Regions from separate parts of the Homo sapiens genome. Here regions 1, 2, 3, 4 and 5 are each linked to region 6. Evidence: promoter capture Hi-C in human tissues and cell types (Jung and others, 2019). All regions are on one chromosome and are shown on one strand. The core of a region is centred on a gene start or on the middle of the fragment in contact, and the rest is flanking DNA. Distances in the headings are between cores, read along the strand shown.

What was found. The method cuts DNA at HindIII sites, captures the fragments that hold promoters and counts their contacts. A contact is called where the count stands out against the background at its distance.
Region 1: a fragment that was not itself captured here is called in contact with the fragment with the promoter of SHOX2 in region 6 in 1 of the 25 tissues and cell types used here (lymphoblastoid cells).
Region 2: a fragment that was not itself captured here is called in contact with the fragment with the promoter of SHOX2 in region 6 in 1 of the 25 tissues and cell types used here (dorsolateral prefrontal cortex).
Region 3: a fragment that was not itself captured here is called in contact with the fragment with the promoter of SHOX2 in region 6 in 2 of the 25 tissues and cell types used here (heart left ventricle and lymphoblastoid cells).
Region 4: a fragment that was not itself captured here is called in contact with the fragment with the promoter of SHOX2 in region 6 in 2 of the 25 tissues and cell types used here (lymphoblastoid cells and small bowel).
Region 5: a fragment that was not itself captured here is called in contact with the fragment with the promoter of SHOX2 in region 6 in 3 of the 25 tissues and cell types used here (IMR-90 fibroblasts, lymphoblastoid cells and mesenchymal stem cells).

Annotation. Positions count from the first base shown.
Region 1 is chr3:158,407,930-158,410,733 of GRCh38, reverse strand. All of the region lies in intron 6 of RSRC1 (arginine and serine rich coiled-coil 1), which reads right to left. Among named protein-coding and RNA genes, the nearest start is that of UC.134, 120 kb to the left of the region's middle. RefSeq lists an enhancer at 1-45. The HindIII fragment of the contact is 7,910 bases long and covers 1-2,804 here.
Region 2 is chr3:157,711,272-157,713,995 of GRCh38, reverse strand. No RefSeq gene overlaps it. Among named protein-coding and RNA genes, the nearest start is that of VEPH1, 210 kb to the right of the region's middle. The HindIII fragment of the contact is 3,724 bases long and covers 1-2,724 here.
Region 3 is chr3:157,844,239-157,847,253 of GRCh38, reverse strand. No RefSeq gene overlaps it. Among named protein-coding and RNA genes, the nearest start is that of SHOX2, 260 kb to the left of the region's middle. The HindIII fragment of the contact is 4,143 bases long and covers 1-3,015 here.
Region 4 is chr3:158,385,787-158,388,587 of GRCh38, reverse strand. The region is part of intron 6 of RSRC1 (arginine and serine rich coiled-coil 1); the gene reads right to left. Among named protein-coding and RNA genes, the nearest start is that of UC.134, 140 kb to the left of the region's middle. The HindIII fragment of the contact is 5,653 bases long and covers 1-2,801 here.
Region 5 is chr3:158,361,839-158,364,667 of GRCh38, reverse strand. All of the region lies in intron 6 of RSRC1 (arginine and serine rich coiled-coil 1), which reads right to left. Among named protein-coding and RNA genes, the nearest start is that of UC.134, 160 kb to the left of the region's middle. The HindIII fragment of the contact is 5,175 bases long and covers 1-2,829 here.
Region 6 is chr3:158,104,655-158,107,692 of GRCh38, reverse strand. It overlaps SHOX2 (SHOX homeobox 2), which reads left to right and starts at 1,273. Exons shown (of 5, transcript NM_001163678.2): 1 at 1,273-2,014. The coding sequence starts at 1,669. RefSeq lists an enhancer at 582-1,085 and a silencer at 1,834-1,883. The HindIII fragment of the contact is 9,488 bases long and covers 1-3,038 here.

The DNA of each region.
Region 1 (2,804 bases), core at 7-2,506, 300 kb before region 6:
AAAATCCTAAGGGCAATTATAAATGCTGAATAGCTGAAATTACAAGAGTTGAAAGATTTTTACAAAGATAGATGATAGAGATAGACAGCTAGATAGCTAGATACTTTTTGAGCACCTTCTATATGCTAGGAACTATGCTAGGTGTTGAAGACATGGTATACAAAACAGATACGGTCTGACCATAAAAGTCTTATTTATTTTTTTACCATAAAAGTCGTGAGAGAGAAACATCAGACAATCATGAAAATCATTTTAAATCAAAAAGTTTGTTGATTACTATGAAAGAAGTTTGTGATGCTTTGAGAGAAGCTGTTATAACCTAGTGTTAGGTGTCAGGAATGTTTCACTGAGATATAAAGTTTAAGCTGAAACTTTAATAATAAGCCTAAATTCATCTGGGAGAGAGGGAAGAGGTAAGTATTTCAGGTAGATGGAAAAACAGGTACAAACCAAGGAACTAAAAAAGCAAGCCAATGGGTTAGAGTGGTCCAGGATGAGACTGGAGAAGTAGACATGAGCAAACCATGGAAGCTTGTAGCTATATTAAGAATTCCAGTAGGTAACAACAAATAGCTGAATTAATAAACAAATGAACAAAGAAAATTGCCCGCTTTTTTTAAAAAATAGTAACTTCATTACAATTCTGTTAAGAAACCATTTTACTGTGATTTTGTTTGAATGTATGAGACTATGACTGTAAAACTTTCCTATATCCTTTCACAAATGTTTCCTAGAATTGTGTTCTAAATGCTATCACTTATATCAAATGACAATTGAACAGATAAATCATTCTCTTTTACTAAAAAAAAAAGAATTCTGAAATTGTATCCTATGGGCAGATGGAAGCCATTGAAGGGTTCAGTGCAGGAGATTAATAGGATCCGATTTACAGATTTTCATATGCCCTCTTTTATTATTCTAATGGTTTTTTCTAATTTTTGCTTTCATCATCTCATTCACAGCACAACTCATCATTAACCTTCTGACCCCAACAAAGTTATCATCCTAAAGCACAGTTCATATCACAAAACTCTCTTTGGTGATAATAGGCAATAGCTCTCAGGAGACTGTAAGTTTAATGAGCACCTACCATGTGCCAGTCAGTCTTCTAGGATGGGGGACATGTTATTGAACAAATAGGCAAAATTCCTGCTTTTAGGGAGCTCACTTTCTAGTAAGAAAGCCTGAGGCTAACCCACTAATCAGACATAAAATACAATGTTAGGGAGTGGTGAATGTGATAAAGAAAAATAAAGCAAATAAAGAAAATAAATAGATTTAATAAAATCAAGAAACAACAAATATAACAAAACATTATGTCCCTCTCTGTTCAACTGCTCCTCTAACAAGTTTTGTGTATACCTATATTTGTGACTTGCTGGACTCTTTATATCCCTCTAGTTGCTCTCACTTTGCATTTTGTGAATTCAAATGCAGCATTTTTTAAACTTTTAAGTTCAGGGTATGTGTGTAGGTTTGTTACACAGGCAAACTTGTGTCCTGGGGGTTTACTGTATAGATTATTTCACCATCCACCTATTAAGCCTAGTATCCATTAGTTATTGTTCCTGATCCTATCCCTCCTCTCACCCTCCACCTTCCAATAGGCCCCAGTGTGTGCTGTTGTTCCCCTCTACGTGTCTGTGTGTTCTCATCATTTAGCTCCCACTTATTTTATTAATTATTATTATTATTATTATTCAGACGGAATCTTGTCTTGTTGCCCAGGCTGGAGTGCAGTAGCGTGATCTCGGCTCACTGCAACCTCTGCCTCCTGGGTTCAAGCAATTCTCCTGCCTCAGCCTCCCAAGTAGCTGGGATTACAAGCCTGAGCCACCATGTCCAGCTAATTTTTATATTTTTAGTAGAGACGGGGGTCTCACCATGTTGGCCAGGCTGGTCTCAAACTCCTGGCCTCAAGTGATCCCCCTACCTTGGTCTCCTAAAGTGCTGGGATTACAGGCACGAGCCACCACGCCTGGCCTGGCTCCCACTTATAAGTGAAAACATGTGGTATTTGGTTTTCTGTTCCTGTGTTAGTTTGCTAAGGATAATGGTCTCCAGCTGCAGCCATGTCCCTGCATAGGACATATTTTTTCCTAGGTCATCAGTGTTTTTAAAAGAAGCTAAGAGATCTTAATTCACTCTAAATGATTACTGGAGATAAAACGTAAACAAAATCTCTAAATTTGCTCATTTTTTTTCTGCGATGCCTATTTGCCTTTCCTTATTCCTTAGCTATAACGTGAGGTTTTAGTAATAAGTTCATAAGTTAGTGTTTTTCAAGATAGCAAATTATCAGACTATGTCTGCATTACCATTTCTGTTATATGGCTAGATGGCCTGTTACCTTTATCAGGAGGCTCAATATGCCAGTGTTGACTAAATTTAGCAGTAATAAATCATGCTTATGTTTACTCTTTGACTTCTAAGTACAACTGCTATATTTTCCATATGTCTCTGGTGACTAAAACTCTCTAAAAACGACAGCTAAATACATCAGTTAGAAGGTTGAGAAAATAAGTTTTAATAATGGCTCAGTGAACGAGCTGAGGAAGGTGTATCTAGAGCCAATCTCAGTATGGGGAAAAGTGTCTGGTGGAATGCCTATTTTGAAAAAGCTCCTTGGGACACTGTATATCATTCCCTGACCAACCCCAACCTCTCTTACACAATCTCCTCATTTTACAGATAAGAAAGCTACGACCCAGAGAGATTATCTAACTTGTAAAAATCATATAAGCCATGAAAGGCAAAGCCAGGATTAGAATTCAGAACAGCTGTCTCTTGTCTGTCTGGGTTCT
Region 2 (2,724 bases), core at 189-2,688, 390 kb after region 6:
CTTAAAATAATTCTACATGAAGCAGCAGGACACGTTTCTATATTTGTCCTTATTATTGGAAAGGACATGGACTAAAAAATAATTGTTACTTTTCTTCCAAACTGCATCTGATTTGAAAGGGAGTGAGGAAAAGACAATGATTTCTCTTTGTCTATACCAAAGAGCCTAGAAATTGAAAATAGCAGAGGAGACATAAACTCCTAGGTTACTTTAAAGATAGTAGTTAAACACACACATATACACATGCATGGACACATGCACATACACATACACACAACAATCCTAGCTTTAGGGAACCTACAGCTTAGTGTTAACCAGACTGTGATATCATGCAGTCATTGAAAAAGAGTGTTAGACTTGTCAAATGAAGACTTAGATTCTCAGGAAAGGTGCTTGAACAAATGATCTGTTTATGGGCCATGTGACTGGGTTCCAATGTACACCTGGAGAAAAGAAAAAAGCAATGCATTATGGGGAACAGACATGGATACTATGCACTTCAAAACAGTAATTATTATGTAATAGACTGAGAAATAATCTCTAGCTTATTTCCAAGCCATTTGAGTGAGCACTGGAATAATTTTTCTTTTGTATCACCTAGCTTTAGAGGAAGTGGGTAAATAAAAAGACTGAGTGACAAAAGCTTGAACTACATACAGGCATGCCTTTGAGATATTGTGGATTTGGTTCCAGACCACTGCAATAGAGCAAATATCACAATAAAGTGAGTCACACTATATTTTTTTGTTTCCTAGTGCATATAAAAGGTCTGTTTACCTTATGCTGTAGTCTATCTATTAAGTGTGCAATAGCATTATGTCTGAAAAACAATGTACATACCTTAGTAAAAAAATACTTTATTGCTAGGAAATGGCAACAATCATCTGAGCACTCAATGAGGTGTAATCTTTTTGCTGGTAGAGGATCTTGCCTCAATGTTGATGGCTGCTGACTGATTAGGGTGGTGATTGCTAAAGGGTTGGGGTGGCAGTTGTAATTTCTTAAAATAAGACAAAAATGAAGTTTGCCACATTGATTGACTCTTCCTTTCTCCAAAGAGTTCTCTTAGCATGCAACGGTGTTGCCTAGCATTTTACCTACAGTAGAACTTCTTTCCAAAGTGGAGTCAATCCTCTCAAACTCTGCCACTGTTTTAGCAATTAAGGTTATGTAATATTTGAAATCCTTTGTTGTTATTTTAACAATATTTACAGCATCTTCACCAGGAGCAGATTCCATCTCAAGAGACCCCTTTCTTTGCTCATCCACAAGAAGCAACTCCTTAGCTCTTCAAATTTGATTATGAGACTGAAGCAATTCAGTCACATCTTTAGGCTTCACTTCTAATTCCAGTTCTTTTGTTATTTCCACAACATCTGCAGTTACTTCCTCCACTGAAGTCTTTAACCTCTCAAAGTCATCTGTGAGGGTTGGAATCAATTTCTTCCACATGCTTGTTGACCTTGATATTTTGACCTCCTCCCATGAATCATGAACATTCTTAATGCATCTCGAATGTGAGTCCTTCTCAGACGGATTTCAATTTGCTTTGCCCAGATCCATCAGAGCAATCACTATTCATGGCATCTTACAGAATGTATTTCTTAAATAATAAGGCTTGAAAGTCAAAATTACTCCTTGACCCATAAGGTGTAAAATGGAGGGATTAGCAGGCGTGTAAACAACATTAATCTCCTTGTACATCTCCATCAGAGCCCTTAAGTGACCAGGTGCCTTGTCAAGAAGCAGTAATATTTTGAGAAGCATCTATTTCTGAGCAGTGGATCTCAACAGTAGGGTTAAAATATTCAGAAAACCATGTAAACAGTTATACTATCATCCAGGTTTTGTTGTTCCATTTATAGTGCACAGGCAGAATAGATTTAGCATAATTCTTAAGGCACTAGGATTTTTGGAATGGTAAATGGACATTGGCTTCAACTGAAGTCACTAGCTGCATTAGTTACTAACAATAGAGTCAGCCTGTTGTTTGAAGATCTGAGGTTAGGCATTGACTTCTCTTCTCTAGCTATGAAAGTTCTAGATGACATCTTCTTTCAATAGGCTGTTTCATCTACATTGAAAATCTGTTGTTTAGTGTAGCCACCTTCATCAGTTATCTTAGCTAGCTCTTCTGGAAAACTTGCTGCAGTTTCTACATCAGCACTTCCTACTTCACTTCCAGCTTTGTACTTTGATGTTATGGAGGTAGCTTCCTTCCTTAACCCTCATGAACTAACTTCTGCTAGCTTCAAACTTCCCCTCCATGACTTTCTCACCTCTCTCAGCTTCATAACAGTGAACAGTTAAGGCCTTGCTCTGGATTAGTCTTTGGCTTAAAGGAATGTTGTGGCTGGTTTGACCTTCTATCAAGATCACTAAAACTTTCTCCTTAACAGCAATAAGGCTGCTGTACTTTTTTTTTTTTTAATCATTTTTGTGTTCATTAAAAGTCAGTAGCATTTTTAACTTCTTTCAGGAACATTTTCTTTGGATTCACAACTTAGCTAACTATTTGGCACAAGAGGTCTAGCTTTTGGCCTATCTTAGCATTCAACCTGCCTTCCTCACTAAGCTTCATCATTTTAAGCTTTTGATTTCAAATGAAAGACTTGCCACTCTTTTCAGTTGAACACTTAAAGACCATTGTAGGGTTATTAACTGGCTCAATTTTAATATTGTTGTGTCTCAGGGAGCAGTGAGGCCTGAGGAGTGAGAGAGAGA
Region 3 (3,015 bases), core at 173-2,672, 260 kb after region 6:
GGGCAGGTAAATTATTATAATAGAGAAAATAGGACTATGAATATAAAGGAGGGGAGAATATTTTTCCTGGGAAAGCCTAATCTGGGAAAGCCTCATGGATGAGGATGAATGGATCTTATTGAATAGGTAAGATTTAGGGGCAGAATGGAGGGAAGGCAGAAGGTGGCAGACAGGACAAATTATGTTCAGGGAACAATTAGTTGATCAGTTAACCCTAAAGAGAGAATTCATAAACCTTTAGGTTATAATCAGATTATACAGAGTGTTTAACCACTTTAAGTATGCAAGGTTAAGACATTTAAACTTTGTTCTGTTGGCAGCAGGGAACCATGACCTTCTCAAATAGGGGAGTTAAATCAGCAACAAGCATTTCAGAAAGATTAATCTGTTGGCCAGTATAGCCTGGAATCAGAAGGGAAACTAGAGACAAACAGATCATTCAGTAGGCACAATTAAGAGGTGGTGAAGGGCTGAGTGGTGGAGATGAAAAGGATGGGGAGAATGAAGTTGCATTATTGCACCAAATTACCAACAAATGGTTACTGGCTAGACATGTGACAAAGTAGCTTCAAGCTCAGTAACACTCATAGAAATGGGGAATTCATCAGTAGGGGATAAGTTTTGTATAAATTTTCATCAAGTAAAGTTTGGCAAAATATTCAAGTGGGATTGTTTGGTAACTATTCAAGATTGACACTAAAAACATAGATTTGGACATTATCAGTAAGATGTTAAGAAGACAGTGGTGGAAAGGAGAGCTGATCAGTGAGATTAAGTTTTATAAGTTTGGGAGTAGAAGAAAAGAATGATGCATGAAGATGGCTAGAGGAGGCTACTAGGCCAAGTGTTTCTCTTCTTTTTCTTTTTTTCCAAAGGATGGGGAAGGCATGTGAAGTTTAAAGTTAGAGGTGAGGGTGCCGGACGCAGTGGCTCATGCTTGTAATCCCAGCACTTTGGGAGGCTGAGGCGGGTGGATCATCTGAGGTCAGGAGTTCGAGACTAGCCTGACCAACATGGTGAAACCTCATCTCTACTAAATACAAAAAAATTAGCTGGTTGTGGCGGGCACCTGTAATCCTAGCTACTTGGGAGGGTGAGGCAGGAGAATCACTTGAACCTGGGAGGCAGAGTTTGCAGTGAGCCGAGATCACGCTATTGCACTCCAGCCTGGACAACAAGAGCGAAACTCCATCTCAAAATAAATAAATAAATAAATAAATAAATAAATAAATAGTTAGAGGTGATGGGAAGGAATAAAAGGTATTTAAGAGGGAATACTCGGGGAGAGGGGGCTTAATGGGAAATATGAAATCAAGAGTCAGATTGAGATGAGACTCACGATATGATGACTATTTTCCTTGCCATATCCTAGGTAACTTCCTCTAAGGTTTTGCATGACGTTTATAAGACAGCTTACTCAGGATAGTTAAACCTGGATGAAGGAAGATGAATTTGTGTGTATTTTCTAACTTTTCCTTGGATAAGACTGTCTACATTGAATGGAGCTGCAAAATAATGCTGCTGCCTCATTTTGCAAAATCAGTAAAACTCCAGATATGGATTCTCTGTAGCCTAGTGGTTGTAGGTGAGATAGTTTGCTTCTTAAATTATGCTGGGAAAATAAGGAAAAATGCAAGCATTTCCTGACATAAAATTAGGAAAATGAATCTGTCAACTGCTGAATATTGTTAGAGTGCTAGGGTTTGGATTTGCACTGTTTGATGTCACAATTAATTTATCATTGTCAAAGTATGACTTCCTGTTTTTGACCCCACACCAAAAAGGCATAAAGGAGTTTGTGAAGGAAAGCTTCTTGGAAATCAAATGGCTCGTCCAAAACAGCATTTTAATGATTTAAGTAAAAACGAATCAGAAACATGTGGATTTAATTTCCCTTAAAATTCACATGGGTTTGAAATTTAAAGGAAAATAGTACTTGGCACAATGTGTTTAGGGTTTGGTTAAACTCAAAACATTTGAAAAACCCTTTGGAACACTGGTGACTTCAAAATACATATGGGCTTGCCCATCCATGTGGGCATGGTTACAAAACCCTCATCCTTCGTGGCACTGTTCAAACATTCTATCAACATGTTTTGGTTTTCACAGGCTTAATTAGGATAAAAATAGCAAATTGTATTAATTGCCTACTGTGTGCTATCAATAAAGTAGAGAGCCAAAGTTTTCCCCTTTTCACAGCTAGGAAGTCTTTACTGGAATGTGGTCAAGGGAAATCCCCACACAGACAGTCAGAATGGGCCTCTAGCACAATGCTTTGAAAATGAGAATTCTGTTACATTAACCATTCATACTCATATCCCCTGCTATTGCACAACTCCATTAAATTTCAGGAGCATGAAAAAGAGAAACGTTATGCTATGGAGTACTGAGTTGGTAATCAAACATTGCCTTGGATTTTAAACAGTTACTTTAAAAGGTCATTTTGGTGTGTGCTGAAAAGGCAATACATACTTAAAATGTTACATTTGGGACATTAATTAAAATATGTAAAGAAGACCATGAAAATGAGGAAAACCAGTGGTTGGCAAAGTAATCTCTTTGCAGTTGCAACCCCCACTCACCCACATGGCAAGCCCAGTTGTTAGCAACTCAGTGACAAGGGTATTTGTAATGAAACCCGCAGAGGTTCTGCCTGATATGTGCTCATATTATTTATAGCCAATTATATTAGTCCCAAAGCTGAGTGACACCTAGGGAGATAATTGAATTTCTTAGATTTCTCCCTTTACACTCTCTGCCACAATCAGAGAAACACAATTTTGAATTCTCCTGTCTCTTAGGGTAAGACCACGCAGTTCGTGTAATTGGATAAGTCCCTAGAGAAAGCTGGCTTCTCCACTGCCTTTTATAACAGCTTTATGGAAAGTTGGCCTCAATTTTTTAGGTGACTTTTTCAAGAGACAAAAAGGATGAGACTTAAAATAATCTCTTCTCATTTTTACCCAAGGAAGTTTATGAACCTTAATCATACAAAAAGAACTGCTTAAAGAAGTT
Region 4 (2,801 bases), core at 191-2,690, 280 kb before region 6:
CCAAATGCCTGGTAAATTGTCAAAACAGACCTACTTTTATTACCTAGGGTCCTAGTTATATTGCTGTTTGTAAACAATGAAATTTTTGACAAGTTTCCTAACTTCTCTAAGCCTCATTTCCTCATGTTTAAAATGGGAATATTAGTACATGCACTGCTCATTTCATAAGAGTATATGGGAATCATGAAATAATGTAAAGGGTGATATCTTGAAAATGGTTACAGTACACACAACATAAAGTAATATTACTGTTAATATATCAAGGATTATTTTTCCATAAATATGTTTAAAAAGTTATTTAAAAATAATCTCATTATGTCTAAGAATCAATTTTTAAAAATAATTTAGCTCCCATTTTATAATGGAAACAAGAAAATAAATCCATTTATAAAATTTTATATAATATTAATGTTTGATAAAATATATATATATTCAAATGAATAAAGAAAGCTTCCATAGCAGTCAGCCAATGTCTTACAAAGATCAACAACTGGAATATTGCACTAGGTAAATAAGTTTTTCTAATCTAGTTATTAATTTCATTTATTACTTCTTGATACTTATTTGACACTTCCAGTACATTAAACCAACTTTCTTAGCCTGCCAAAAATGATAGATTATGCTTCTGTGCATTCCTTTTGTTATCACCATGTCTATTTTCAGTATATGTGCATGTGTGCGTTTGTCACTGAGATGCCTTAAGAACCTCTAGTGAGGATAAAAAGCCAGCTATATTGAGAAGACTCATTTCACAAAACATTCTATGCATCAAACTATGATTTCTTTTTAAAGCAAACGTTTTAAAAATAATGATACAAGAAGGAAAAATGACCCTTTCTTCTCCAACTAAATCTTATCCTTGGTCACACACTAAAAGGTTTTCATGATATTTTGTCTGGATCTGGAATGTAAACCATACCAATACTTGTAAGGATTTACAGTTTTTCCCCTTTATTTCACAGTAGTTTAAATTATTAACAAAGATATTAAGGCACTGAGTCCAGTGAAAAACTATGGAATTTTAAGTGCAAATACTGTAGATGACCAATGAATTTGGTGTGGATGGTTCATACTTATGTTATGCATTCTAGTTGACTTAATTTTTTTATTTAATAAGCTAAAGGAACTACTCTAAGGCTAAATGTTACCACTATTATTTGACTGATAGGCTGTTTCTGTCTCTTACTAAGCAACCAGTATTCACTTGATTATACTGGTCCTTTTTAAAGTTCCCAAATTGCTTGATCAGTATTCCAGGCCAAAAGTTGGAGTAGTCCAGAACCTAATGCCATAGATAAATCCCAAAGGGAGATAGGAAACTTCTCTGACCAGAAGGTTTTATAATTAAACGTGACTGAATGGCTCTTAATTGCCTGTAGTACTCAGAGAAATGAGACAGGTTTATCAAAGATAATCCTTATATTTGTATTTGAGACATATATAGAGGCAGATATTTCCCTAATTACTCAGAGGTCATATCTGGAAAACTGTAACTAAACCAACCACTTTTTTTTTAATGAAAATGTCACAAAGAAATGTAATTTCACATGTGACTTCGGGTTATATTACACAGTATTTTGTTATATAAAACAAGAAATGGTATGTACTTCATGGAATTTCTTTTAAAATAAAATGTTTCTTATTTCATTGTTGTCTGCTCAAAATATTCATTTTATTTCCATGTACTACCATGGGCAATAAAGCCATTCTTTTCGATGATTTTGCAATAATACGTAATAAAATTATCTTTTTTTTTTTTTTGGTCTAGTGAATACGACTCACATTATGGTCCTGTGAACATGCATGCTGCTCACCTCTTCCCCATTTTAAGAGGCATATAAGTCAATTTACTTAACAACAAAGACTATAAACCCTACATTTCTGCCTTGTAAACTCTGTTAATAACATGGATTCTGATGAAAGTCAATCAATGTTTCCATCTTTTAAACTGCCTTTTCCCCCCAATACAAATTAAACAACAGCTTGGCCATATTGAGGTCCTTAGTTTCATAATAATAGTGTGTTGGTCATATAATATAGCCTCTAGCAGGTATCTCACTACAAGACCTACGTTAACAGTGGTTTAGCTATATTCGTCTATTAAAGAGCTTTTTTTAAGGTGGAAATCTTGTTCTTACTTTATAATGAGAATAAATTGGGCAAAGAGGGATTTACTTTGTTGTCAAAACTAAAATGTATTAAACAAGATTACATACAATTTTAAAATAAATATTTTAAATTGATAAGTTGAACTTCAAGTGTTATAAATTCATACATGTACTTCTCCTATTTAAATTTCTTAATAAATTAATAAGTACTAGTTCATAAAATCTAAATAATAGGCTCATTACCTTAAAAGGGAAAGATGATGTCCACAAAGTTAAAAGACAAAAAACAGCTTTTTTAAAAAATGCCTTTTTTTAAAGCATATACTGTATGTTTTCTAAAACATATAATACCTTAAAAATTTATCCACTCAATAACTTGTAATCATCCCTAAATCTAATGGGACATAAACGCATTTCATCAGAGATGAAATTCTTCAATGACTGCTAAAATGAGAATCAAAAAATTATTATAATCTAGTAGTTTGGCTTGCAGCAAGCATTAATCAGAAGTCATAATAAATCCACATGCTTCTTTAGACAGCACATTAGTCAAAGAGTTTTCTATGATAACGACAATGACTAATGGGCTCTGAGTTAGAAGGGTCAATCATAAACTCATCAAATGCTTCATTTAATTTCTTAATTTGGACAAACACAATTTGTTTATGGGAAAGATATCAGGTGTTCGTGAAT
Region 5 (2,829 bases), core at 139-2,638, 260 kb before region 6:
GCTAACATTAACTGAATACTTACTATGTATCAGGTACTGCTCTAAGTGTTTTATAAATACTAACTCATTGAAATCCATAACAACAACCCATTAGTTATGTACTATTAGTATCTCTGTTTTACAGATGAGGAAACTACAGGACAGTAAATAAAAAGTGATCTGCTCAAGCTCACAGTTTGTTAGTGAAACAATATAAATCTGGACTACCAAAACACAATCAAGCATAAGCCTATATAGGGGAAAAAAGAAGTCTGTAAACTATTTATATGAAATAAAAATAAACGTTTCAATCTCCTGCTCTTTTTGGGGGGTTTGCCCTAACATGAAAGGCTCTCTCACAATAAATCAGTACTATTTCTCGGAGCCATAGATAGTGAGTGGTCAGAAACCTACAGACAAAACCTCTTTCAGCTTTAGATCAGGGTAAAGCAGAGCAGCTTTCTATGCTCCCCGGAAACAGTACAACATTATCAAAGCAATCTGATTTGTAATTCTTTGAATTACACATATTTAACACTACAACGGACTTTAGAGAAGTGTTGGGAGTCCTAAGGATCACATGGCTATGAAGAGAAAGGGTCAGGACTTGGCTTCCAGGTACTTAATAGGCAACTAAGAGAATAAAATCTCAGTTTAACAGGCTGCAGAAAAATTGGGATGGGGTGAGGCACTTATGGCGTACTACTCAGCAAAGCTTATTACTTGGATACAGTATGTATAACTGATCTGTGTTTTGATAACACTTAACCAGTTTCTCTCCTAGGAAGGGTCCCTAAAATTCACTTCCATAGCTAGGTGTTAGAAAAAAATCATAAAACATTACTTTAGATTTTTCAAAGTTATAAATTTAGCTACTATAAACACTCTACATAGTCAAGGAAAATAACTTATTGTTCCTAAATGATGCTTTAATCCCTTTGTGGTATCAATAAGAAAACTTACTTCAGAATCAGAGGCTTACTTGAGGATAGAAATTATTTTATTTTAAGATAATTGTAGAAGGAAGTCTTATAGAATAAGGTTATGCATTTTGTAATATTATCTATTGCCTTTCTGCCTAACATAACTCAGGTATTTAACTTATGAATTAGAAGTAGCTCGAGGGCTGGGCATGGTGGCTCACGCCTGTAATCCCACCACTTTGGGAGGCCGAGGCGGTCAGATCACTTGAGGTCAGGTGTTCAAGACCAGCCTGGCCAACATGGTAAAACCCCGTCTCCACCAAAAATACAAAAAATTAGCTGGGTGTGGTGGTGCGCACCTGTGATCCCAGCTACTTGGGAGGCTAAGGCAGGAGAATCTCTTGAACCTAGAAGACAGAGGACGTGGTGAGCCGAGCTTGTGCCACTGTACTCCAGCCTGGGTGACAGAGCAAGACTATGTCAAAAAAAAAAAAAAGAAAAAAAAAGTAGCTGGAGAGTCAGAAATCACTGGAGTTAAGTCCTGATTCTATCACTTATTAGCTCTGTAACTTTTTACAAGTCATTTAAGCTTTCAGAATACTTGTAAACTGGACCTAATTAACTCTCCATGCAGTGATATGAGTCAAAAGATAAAGATTTATTAAAGTGCTTTGAAAACTATAAGGTACAATCCAAAGGTTGTAGATACTATGCAGAAAATGAAATACTGTTATGCAGAGATTTTATAAGTTGTTTTACCACATATGTACAAAAAGAAATTTCTATCTTTTCTTATAACATTAGAAATATAATTTTAAAGGTGCATGTGTCAATTCTATTAAAAGTAAAATATTGAGAAGGCTTCAAAGAAAATTGTGTTACAGGTATTGTCTTCTCATACTGATAAAAAATATCTTTTGGAAAAATCTCTCTTCTAAATTCTTTAGACCCATGGACACATTTGGGATAAGATGATAATACGTTTTTGCAGAAAATCTAGATAATGTTTGGAATGGGGCTATCAAGACAAACAAAGGCAACAGCAAAAGTGATGGAGACAAAGGAGTCCTTACCTAAACTTCCTGTTTTCCCTCCATCCCCTGTGAAATAATCATGTTTTACTGTCTTTTCTGTCAAGCGCTGTCTTAAAGTTTAAGTGTAAAAAGTCAGGTTATGTCATATATCTTCTGCTTTTGAAGCTAGGTAACATCTTAGTATATTTATTATAAAATCCATCAAACAGCAGTTAAAATGAGCACATCAGCATCTAAATGTTTTTCAGACAGCTAGATCCTCTGTTTCTCTACAATGACTTACTTACAAAAGATTAACAGCTAAAATGTTCTCTGATGTAGTACTACTATAGGTATTGTTAAAACTGCTGGGAAAGATGTAGAAGTTTTAAATGTAATTTCTATTTTTTTTGAGACAGGGTCTTACTCTGTCACCCACACTGGAGTGCAGTGGCGCAATCACAGCTCACGGAACCCTTGACTTCACTCGGGCACAAGCAATGTCCCACCTCAGCCTCCCAAGAGGCTAGGACCAGAAGCATGTGCCACCATGCCTGGCTAATTTTTGTATTTTTTTGTAGAGACAGGGTTTTACCATGTTGCCTAGGCTGGTCTCGAACTCCTGGGCTCAAATGATCCTCCCATCTTGGCCTCCTACAGTGCTGGGATTATAGGAGTGAGCCACCATGTCTGGATAAATATACAGTTCCTGACCTTTGGAAGTTTATTTCATTGGAAAAATAAGTATAACATTCATGAAACAACTAAATATTAATATCAGCAGTGTATGAATCAACATCAATATAAATGGTGTGCAAAGACAGGACTAAAAGAATTCAAATGAGGAGAGAAACATTAGGTACTGGAATGGTCAGGGAAAAGATGTGGAAATCTTGTTTTAGAAGAGCCTTGGA
Region 6 (3,038 bases), core at 24-2,523:
GGGTAGGCAGAGAGACCTTTACTCCTGGCGAGCGTCTCTTTTTTAGCTCTCCGTAATAAATGAAATTAGAGGGGGTACAAACTTAACGTCGATTTTTTTTTCAGACTCGAAGAGGGATAATCTCTTGTTTTTCAAATTAGTAAATAAACTCGGATGTTTCCCAAGATGCTAAAGAAGAAGTCCTGTAATTCACCATAGAGGGGTCCGAGTGCAGAGAGTAAGGGAGAAGGGTGGGAGTTCTGAGACCTCAGAGAGGAAACGAACGAAGTCGAGCTGTCCTTGACCGGGCGCTAAGGAAACACTTTAAAATGAGATCTGTCAGCTAACAGCTGCTGGGGAAACTTGTTAAATCGACTGGTCCCTTTTAGCGGGGTCTGTCCATAGAGGAGTCAGCTGGGCTCCAGGACACGAATAATAGAGCGAATAACACGGACCGAGGGGCGAGGAGCTTGGAGAAGACCCGGACTCAGCCTGCCTGCGAGCCGGGAAGCTCCTAAGAGAAGCTGCGCGGGTCGGAGAAGGTGCAGGCAACCCTGTCTCTGGGCAGGATGATGCTGGGCGGTGGAGCTACGGCCGGCAGGGGTGGGATTGTGAGGGAGAGGCGGGGATGCAGAATTGGGATGCGGGGTCAGGATGCGGGAATGGGATGCGGGGCCTGTAAACTGCTGGGCGGTTGATGCAGGGCAGGGACGAGGAAAAGCAATGCGAAGCTGAGCATTGCGAGGCACCCTGACTCGAAGCAAGGCTGTAGGGAAGGATGCAGTGTCGGGATACCTGACTGACTCTAAGAGCTGCGCACTTGTCAGTTTCCTCTTGGCCCCACCCCGCGGGGTCTATCCAGCTCCCCAGTGTTTAACTAAGTCGTGACACCAACGCAAAATCCACGCCTAATTAAATTAATTAGGGATTCTTGTCAATCCTGGATTAATGGCCAAGAGCACAGGCGGCAGGGGCTATCTGAAAACCTGAGCGGCCGGGGACCGGCCTTCTCTCCCCGCCCCCTCCGGTCCCCCTGTGCTGCCCTACCACTCCAGCCCCAGCCCGCCCGAACTCCAATCTCTCTCTCTCCTCTTCTCTCTCTCTCTCTCTCTCTCTCTCTCTCTCTCTCTCTCTCTCTCTCTGTTTCTCTCCTTTTCCCCTCCCCAACCCCCGGTAGAGGCGCGACTGCTACCCGGGAAGGGGGCTCACTCCGAGTTGCGAGGGGAGGTAATTTACTCAAAACAAGAGGCCGCCGTTAGGAAGTATAAATAGTGGGACTTCAAGCGCAGCGTCGCTATCAGATCTGAACTCTCCGCAGGAAGAATTGTCAAAGATCTTAACATTGAACAAGCGCGCTCCGGCAGGGAAGCATCAGTTCCCATTTCCCTCCGGCAGCCCCCGCCCCTTCTCTTCTCCTCCTCCTCCTCCCTCTCCTCTTCACCCTTCTCCCCCTCTTCCTCTTCTTCCTCCTCCTCCTCTTCTTACTTCTTTTTCTCCTTCTACTTCTCCTCCTCTTTCTTCTTTCTTCTCCTCTTTTTCTTCTTCTTTCTCCTCCTCCCTCTCCTCCCCCACCTCCTGTCCCATTGATGTGTTATTATTGGGGGGGCTGGAGCAGTAAAAAAAGAAGAAGGAAAAAAAGAGCGGGGCTCTGCTGGCAGAGGTTGAGCGCCGGGCTGACGTGCGGCGGCGATGGAAGAACTTACGGCGTTCGTCTCCAAGTCTTTTGACCAGAAAGTGAAGGAGAAGAAGGAGGCGATCACGTACCGGGAGGTGCTGGAGAGCGGGCCGCTGCGCGGGGCCAAGGAGCCGACCGGCTGCACCGAGGCGGGCCGCGACGACCGCAGCAGCCCGGCAGTCCGGGCGGCCGGCGGAGGCGGCGGCGGAGGAGGCGGAGGCGGCGGCGGAGGAGGCGGAGGAGGTGTAGGAGGAGGAGGAGCAGGCGGAGGAGCTGGAGGAGGGCGCTCTCCCGTCCGGGAGCTGGACATGGGCGCCGCCGAGAGAAGCAGGGAGCCGGGCAGCCCGCGACTGACGGAGGGTAACGACCTGACTGACCCCCGGCAGCGGTTCCCCTTCCCGCCTTCCGGACTCCTCTCGGGCGGGAGAGGACTCCGAGGCCCAGCGGGGAGGGGAGAGGGACACGGAGAGGGCCCTGGACCCCAGCTTTGTCAGCTAGAGTGATAGTGGAAGGGTGGGGGTCCGGTGGTATGCTCGGTCATGGGTGGGGTCCTAGTGTGTTGTGGGGGTGGCGTGGGGGGAAGCGTGTGGGGTTTGTGCGCGCCCTTCCCAGATGTTCCCATTCCACCGAAATGCATTTTTCACCAGCGGGAGGATGGGCCCGCAGCCCGGATGGCCCGCAGGCGGACGTGGAAGTTCGCGGGGCCGGGCTGCAGGAGGGGGTGCTGAACCAGACGGCGGGACTAAAGCTAGCCTCTAGCGCAGAGTTTGCCGGGAGGGAGAAGGGGCAGAGGTGGAAAGCTTAACCCTCCGGTCGCCTAGGTGTTTGGGGCCGCCAAGACCCCTCGAACTCCGCAGAGCCCCTGAATCTTTGGATCTTAGGGGCCAAAACTTCCCATTCTCTTTCAAGGTAGAAGGAAGCCAACGAAAGCTGAGGTCCAGGCTACGCTGCTTCTCCCGGGCGAGGCGTTTCGGTTTCTTGGTGTGTTGGGGGCGGGGGGGGGGGGCGGCGGGGGAGGTGGGGATCTATATTTACACAATTCCTTTAGTGTTTTCAATCACCCAGTACTCGGTTCTCTTAGAGCAAAAATCCTTTGGTGCTAGCTCAGTGTTAGGAAACGTCTTTATCTCAATGGCAGAGCGTTCTATACCAATTCAAAGGAGTTCAACAATAAAATTGATTTGGCACTTGGTGCCTGCAGTAACTGGTGTACTGCCATATTTTTCCAATTAAGAAAATATGTGGCATGCGTGGAATCACATATTTAAGCAAGCAATTAAGTTGTTTATGACACGGTCTGTTCCTGTTTAGATCAGTAATTGGAAATTTGGGGACAAAAATAGAGATTTTATTAAGTCTATGGATCAACTTGAAATTTGGACAT